Linked DNA regions of Homo sapiens: region 2 is linked to region 1. Evidence: promoter capture Hi-C in 16 types of primary human blood cells and fetal thymus (Javierre and others, 2016). All regions are on one chromosome and are shown on one strand. Each heading gives the region's core, a stretch centred on a gene start or on the middle of the fragment in contact. The rest is flanking DNA. Distances are from core to core; before and after follow the strand shown.

What was found. The method cuts DNA at HindIII sites, captures the fragments that hold promoters and counts their contacts. A CHiCAGO score of 5 or more calls a contact.
Region 2: a contact is called between a fragment that was not itself captured here and the fragment with the promoter of ZNF148 in region 1, in 1 of 17 cell types (neutrophils). The highest score is 5.0, in neutrophils.

The regions. Positions count from the first base shown.
Region 1 is chr3:125,373,589-125,377,391 of GRCh38, forward strand. It overlaps ZNF148 (zinc finger protein 148), which reads right to left and starts at 1,737. Exons shown (of 9, transcript NM_021964.3): 1 at 1,514-1,737. LOC105374080 (a long non-coding RNA gene) reads left to right here and starts at 1,838. Exons shown (of 3, transcript XR_924427.3): 1 at 1,838-3,464. RefSeq lists a silencer at 1,472-1,521 and enhancers at 1,632-1,901, 2,012-2,061. The HindIII fragment of the contact is 7,036 bases long and covers 1-3,474 here.
Region 2 is chr3:121,538,218-121,542,020 of GRCh38, forward strand. POLQ (DNA polymerase theta) reads right to left here. Exons shown (of 30, transcript NM_199420.4): 3 at 3,132-3,262; 4 at 1,216-1,372. Among named protein-coding and RNA genes, the nearest start is that of POLQ, 5.9 kb to the right of the region's middle. The HindIII fragment of the contact is 2,647 bases long and covers 539-3,185 here.

The sequences.
Region 1 (3,803 bases), core at 487-2,986:
CCCTAGACCTTCTGATAACTAGTCCTGACCTCCTTGCAACCTAAAACCAAAACAGATATTCTAGCTCCTCCATTCTGCAGGCCCACACTTTGCTGGCTGATACGTTTTCTTCAATGCCATCATGCCTGAATGAGAGTATTCTCTCACTGGAGAACTCCCTCACAGTTCACTTCAGGAACTGTGAATGGCAGAAGATCTCCCACCAGCCACAGATTTATGGAACCAATCCAGCCAACTAATTTGAGCTACAAATGAAGTATCTAAAGAAGAGCCAGCAAGCATGTCTTCCCCCCGACCATTAATTATAATCTTGTGTACTGCAATCCAGGCTGAATAATACGGCACCAATTCTCCTGGACCAGATAAACTGGGCAGTGAAGAAAACCACCAAGTCAATTAATTTCCATTCCAGCGTTTGCCAGGATAGTATTTACCCAACCTCGGGTAAGTGTTAATACTTCAAATTTTCTAAAATCGAAGCTCCATAGCCTAAGGAATCCCCACAGGCCAGACCCTTTCTCAAGGTCTGCTTCAGAGGTTCTCATACTCATTGGTGCACGTCTAAAATGTCACAGACCAAACTACAGACTAAAATCTAATTCTCAGTGACCCCAACCACGGCCCAGACCCACACTTACCAGATGTCATCTACTGAACAGCCCACACAGGTTCGGAACTAGGCCATCCCGGCCCATCTGGAATAACTCTTCAGTACTTAGGCCAATATTTATTAATTATACTACATCTGTCTATTCTATTATGCATTCCCTGCATCTTCTCTACTATTTAGCACTCCCTCTTGCTTCAAACGCGATCCTTTCTATTCACGGGAACTCCTATCTCCCTTCTTTCCTTCCCTGAGAAACGCTTCAGTTCTTTCCATAATGAAATACCTAACGTATCTGCACAATGAACACCCCCCAGAATCCTCAAGACTCCTCCACAGCCACCTCCCCGCATTCCTCCACCTCTCCGGCATCTTTCCTCCGGCCCCTCGCCCTGTTCGCACTCCCACTACGTTTCCTGCAAGCATTCCCTTTTCTCCAACCCCTGCCCTTCCCTTCTCCCAAAGAGCACACTCCGGCAGCAACAGTGACTGAGGCCTGCGGTGCATAAAGCACTGCACCAGGCACGGTGGACAGAGCCCTGGTGTCTCCCTAGCCTTTTCACACCCACACCCAGCACCCTCCGGCCTCCCCGTGCAAACATCCCACCTCCTCCCCTACCTCTGACACCCGCCTCCAGCCTCGGAGGCCGCCTTCTCGCCTCCGCCACCCCCGTCATTATCCCTCCTCAACCCCCCAACCCACCCTCCGCGCCCTGCTTCCTCACGTCCCCCAGCCAGCCCCAGCGTTTCCCTCGGCCTCGGCTGGCCCCCTGGCCACCCCCAGCCTCGCCACGGCTCGCTCCCCCCGGGGTCAGGCCGTTACCGCCGCGCGCTCCCCCCGCGCGCCGCCCCCTCCCCCTCCCCCGCCCTCCCCCGGGCCCGGGCCTGCCAGGCCGAGCGCTTTACCGCGGGCGGGCGCCGAGTCGCGCGGTCACCGACTGCAGGCGGCGGCAGCTCCAACCTTTCTAGGGGCCTTGAGAGGAGGGGAAGGGGGGAGGGGGGAGAACTTTTGCTGTGGCAGCTTCGGCAACAGCTCCCACCCCTGCGCCTTTCTCCTCTTCCTCCCCCTCCTCCTCCTCCTCCTCTTCCTCCTTCTCTTCCTCCTCCCAGAGCAGTAGAGACGCAGACATGCCGCAGCTAGAGCGCCGCCGCGGTCGCCGCCACTGCCGGCCCGGTGCATTGTGGGAAGCCCCGCACACGGGAAGCGCTCCGCGGCGCCCGCCCTCGTCTGGCGCAGAGACCTGGCTGGAAAGACACAGCGTGGCTTCGATTCCGGCGCCTGCGTGTCACCAGCCCAGGGTGGCCGTGGAAGCTGGACCCGAGCCGCAGGCCCCCCAGGCTGGGCCTGGGAGGAAAGCGGTTTGAAAAAGATCGGAACTGAGGAACTCTCTTAGAGCGGGGGACTCCCTGCTCCTACAGCCTTAACCAATGCCCAGCGCTTGGAAAGTGGAGGACTCGGGGATTCGGGAGCGTTTCAGGCCTGGGGAAATGGAAGGGTCGGGGACCTAGGTGAAAGGTTATTTGCCAGAAATGTCTTGGCTTTTTCATTTATTCTGTCTTACCTAGCCCTTCGCCGCCACCTCCAGTCGTTGGCCTCTTACCACCTTCAAATGCCACCTTTTCCGGAAGATGTAGCCCTGCGCCCTTGAAACTGGCAAACCCTATTAGTGTCTGCAAGCTGAGATGCAGGGTGTGGGCATAGACACAGATCAAGAGATCCGGCCCTGGACCCTCTTGGGCAGAACCTTGCCCTTCTCATTTCACCTGAAGCCCAAACTTTGTATGGCAAAGACTTGGTAATGATCTCTATAGAGCTAGGATTACACAGTTGTCTCATCCTTTGGGGGCCCTTTAGCCAAACTGTGACCTCCTTAATGGTGCCTTCGTCAGCTAACATTAGGCGCCCTGAGGTGCTTCTGCATACTGCCATCGTTTACAATTACTCATCTTTGTGTACACACCCTAGCACAAGGTCAGCCATATAACATAAAAGATGCTCAGTGAATGTTGAGTAATTGTGAGCATCTGGAACTTGCCGTGGGATAAAACGCGTTCATTGGGATTTCTTCATAATAATATGAAGATTCCATTTAGCGCCTCTCTGCAATACTTAAACGTAACCTTTGAGGGGAGAGGGAAAAGAAAAGGCATGAAAATATCTATAGAGCCATTTCTGGTGTTCTCCTTCCCTTTTCCACACCCGCCTTCCCACCCCTTGCCAACTAAATGTTCATTTGAATAGTGCTTTTTGGCAAAATTCCAAACTCCTGCATTATGCACTTGTGATGACACTGAATTAGATTAGTGTCTGCAAGGTTAATGTTCCCTCAGGCATTAACCTTAGTAAATCGTGATGCCTGTTTAGAAATAGCTAAGGCCCAGAGGTTCAGCTTAATTTAGACACAGGTAACTAAGAGCAAGAGTAAACCACAGCTCCACAATCAACTCTCTCTGTGTGCTTTCTCCATTAAAAAATATAAATTTTAATAAGATGACCGCACATATTCTGAATGTTAATTGCAACAAAACAATGACACAAGTTAGAGCCAAGGGACAGTTATCTGGAGGACAGCCTTCTGGCAACTTCTAGCACCCGCAGTGGCATCAAATTCAGACGTCATAATGAAAAACACCTCTGGCAGCAAGAAAGCCGACTCTCAGTATTAGGCAGTGGGAAAACTAATAACTGAAAAGGGCTCAAGGCCTGGAGGTTACATCCAATGGGCTAGGATTGATTGGTTTGCTATTAGGAATAGATCTAGTTCTCTGCTCAGCAGCCTAACAAGCGATAGAGAAACAGCTGTCTAAAATGGGCAGAACGAAGAGCACTACAGGGATAGTAACAGCAAAAGCGATGGTGAGGAGCAAGCTTAGGTCCTTTATAAGTTAAACTGGAAAAACTTCTCAGCTTCAGGTTGGCTCTCCATGCTCCTCTTGCTCACTTCCCTAAACACCACCCGTAGGTACTCAGCCTACTTACTTTTCCTTTTTTTTTTTTTTAACTTTTTATTTTGAAATAATTATAGACTCACAAGAAGTTGCAAAAATAGTCCAGAGTCCCATGCTTTCCCCAATGGTGACATCTTACAAAGCTCTAGTAAGACATCAAAATCAGTGTCAACCTAAATAACAGAGAGGCTTTCTAAAAGAAAATAATGTTTATTTGGGAATAGAGCATTGCAATGAAAATATACAC
Region 2 (3,803 bases), core at 612-3,111, 3.8 Mb before region 1:
TTTTTTTAATATGGTAAGCTAGTGAGTCATCATACTGCAAAACATAAATATGATCACAATGTCCTTCACTACTTGGAGAATTTAACCAATGTATATACTTGGAATAATTCTTAAGAATTACTGAAAATTCAGTATCAACTAATACTTTCTTTAGTTAAACATTTTCATAACAACATAGTTTCCACATGTACTGGTATTCTCCCCACCCCAAATTCTCCCCACCAAAAGACAACTTTCTGGTGAAAAGGAATTTAAGGAGACAATAGGAAACTTCCTAATGACACATGATGTTCTTTTTCCTATCAATAAGCTGTCTCCAAAATTGTACTGTCTGATGAGTTATTTTAGCACTTACTCATTCATTCACCAAAAAAAAAAAAAAAAAAGTATTCTGCCTGCCGTGTGCCAAGCACTGTGCTAGGTACATTGGAAATAGCACTTACTACGAGTCTATTGCAACTCTCAAATATTTAAAGTCCAATGGGGTCACAAGTAATAAGACAATTCTGATACAAATCAATTGCAATTTCTCTCTCCAAGCTTTATGGAGCATAGCCTATGTCTGATTCCCACCCTCCACCCCTACCCTACCATAACTTTACCATGGTATTTTTAAGTTCACCAGCTTCTCAATAATTAGCTGATATTCTTGCTACTTCTGCTGCTGCAATCCTTCTATTCCTGTTGCTACCTCTACATAATGGCCTTTCCATAATGGCAAAAAAATGCATTAAGATAGAAAATCTTCCCACAATCCCAAGCTCAAATAGAGTGTCAGTTTCTTTAGCTTCCTACCATTTCCATGCTAAATGACAGACTCTGGGTCCAAGCCCAAAATAGACATCATAGCAGCAGAATATAATAACAAAAACCCATATACACTAACCACAAAATGGCAGATCTGGCCCAGCAGGCCTCCTTCTATTCCTGGTAGAGTTTAGATAGGAAAGAAGCAAGGAGAAATTATTGAGGGCTCAAGGATATAATCTACGTTTTGTAAAGTACAAAAATGCAACGTAACGGAGTCAATAACAGCAGCAGGACACAAAACTTATAAACACAGCGTTCCTAACATTACAGATGCCAATCCTTGCCTCCAGAAGTAGATAATAGACAATAGGAAAACAAATGGGACCTAGAGAAATCACAACAGCTCCACTTCATTCCATCAAAAATAGCAATAGAAAGTATTTACTTATTTTCTAACTTTCTTACCTAACAGATCCATCTTATTTTCCTCTATGAGGCGATTGATCAGACCATTGGCTCTCTCAATTGTGCAGACTGCAATATCCAATGAAGAGAAATGCCTTGATGGAGAGGTGCTGCCCATATAACCGTCTACTTTTATTCCTACTTCCTGAAACAGACTCTGAATTGAGTAAAAAGGAACAATACAGGTGAAAAAACTTGAAATTCAAGAGTTATAAACTGGTTCTATCCCAGAACATAGACATAAGTATCTAAAGACATCTACCAGATTACTGTCATCAGTTGTTTCTGGCCAGGACACACTGGTTCTTTTTAGATCATATACTAAAAATATAAAGTTTAGAACTGACAAAACTGTTAAGAGTCAAATAAAATTATGCCATTTTAATGACAGCATAATAATCTAAAAACTTCTAAGAGCTATTTAGAGGAATTAAAATTGGAGAAAAACTACCTTAAGCACTAACATTTTTAATCTAATAAATAGCAAGAAACTAGCTATAACACTTAAAGAAACAAATTTATACTTCATGAGGAAAATAGTCTCATTATCCTACTAATGACCAATTTTTTAATGTAATTGGAAGAAAAGTTTTTAAAAGTCAAATTCAGTGGGACTTTAATAATAATTTTTTTTTTTTTAGTTTAACTTTTAACTAACATACCTTTCAATAAAAAGGATCCTTTCATCATTTCGTTACTTTGGGTCTAAGTTGAGTGATGTTACCATGTATGACCAGCTTTGTTGGCTACTGTGCCTCTGAAATAACTATTAAAAAGATTTATAGAACCATAGAAATTTAGAGCTATTCATTCAATAAAATTTTCCTGAGTGTTTACTAAGTTAACCCACAGGGCTAAGGGTTAACATCCTAATTTTACAAATAAAAAAACTGAGGCCCAGCCAGTTATATGCCCGGCCTAAAGACATAGTTAGTGGCAAAACTGGGACTAGAACCCACATTTCTTTAACAATCAGTATAACAATCTTTCCATTTCAAAAGCACATATTTTTCACTGCAGAAATCACAACAGTAAATTTATTCCATTTAATAAAATATTGTATTTGTGAAAATGCCCTAAAAACTGTGAGCATCATATTGATGTAAACTACTATTAGTCATTTTTGCAGAACAGAGGAACAGATCACATACCTGGAGCTTTACCTAAGCACCAATGGATCTTGACCTTCATCCCCTAAATATTCCTAAATAGTCCTCAATTAGGGCAGGATACACTTCCTTAAACACTCTTTCCTTTCTATGCTTCAGTCTAGTCCTACTGTTCAGTTAAATGCTGATTCTTAATGTGCGTGTTTATATGCTAGTTTAAATATTCTGTTTATTTCCTAAGAAAAGGTTTACAAATTTTTACACAATTTTCACCAATTATTCTTTTGATTTGATGGCCCCTTCTCCTTAATGCAATAATAATTTTCTTTTAATTTCCTTCTGTAAATTTTTTTAATTTTTTTTTTTTTGAGACAGAGTCTTACTCTGTTGCCCAGGCTGGAGTGCAATAGCGTGATCTCGGCTCACTGCAACCTCCACCTCCCAGGTTCAAGCCTCAGTCTCCCGAGTAGCTGGAATTACAGGTGTGCGCCACAACACCCAGCTAATTTTTGTATTTTTAGTAGAGATGGGGTTTCCCCATGTTGGCCAGGCTGGTCTCGATCTCCTGACCTCAGATGATCCGCCCACCTTGGCCTCCCAAAGTGCTGGGATTACAGGCGTGAGCTACCACACCCAGCCCCTTGCTGTAAATTTTTAATGCTTTTGGCAGTAGCCTCTTAAAGCTACATAGGGCACAATGAAGAAACTTTGTTTTCCACTTGCTTTTATAATTCTATTTCAAATGAATGAAACCAAGACTGCCAATAATGAGCCTTTCACTATTTCAAACTTAGTAAAAAACATTACCTGGAGGTAGTATTTCTTCTCTTTAGCCACAGAAACAAAGGGAAGAATAAACAAAGCTTTCTTCCGCATTTCCAAAACCCGCTTCAAAATAAGTAATTCTGCCACAAGAGTCTTCCCAGCACTTGTAGGAGCTAAAACATGATTATTCCACAAGATTATAAGAAAAAAGTAATATTCGGTACAATTCATTAATAAATGTTTTAAGCCATGTGTAGTACTACAGAGCCTAAGGCTAACCAATCACTAAGGGCCCAATAGCACTTAAAATCTTTATACCCTGAAATGCCCTTTACTTTAAACCACCTGTCTTAATAGTCTCAACTAAAAACAGAGTAAATAAATCTTTATATCAGCAATATGATGAATACTACTGAGTACCTAGTTTATACCTAAAGATCCTTTCCTTTAAGTACCAAATGGGTAAAAGGCCTGCTTTGAGGAAGTAGATGAACAATTTTATTATGATAGGAGCTATGATCGAAGTTGAAGAAAAGGGCTGGGCATGGTGGCTCATGCCTGTAATCCCAGCATTTTAGGAGGCCAAGGCCGGGGGATCACTTGAGGTCAGGAGTTTGAAACCATCCTGGACAACATGGTAAAACCCCATCTCTATTACTATAAAAATAACAAAAAAAAAAATAGCTGGGCGTGGTGGCGGGCACCTGTAATCCC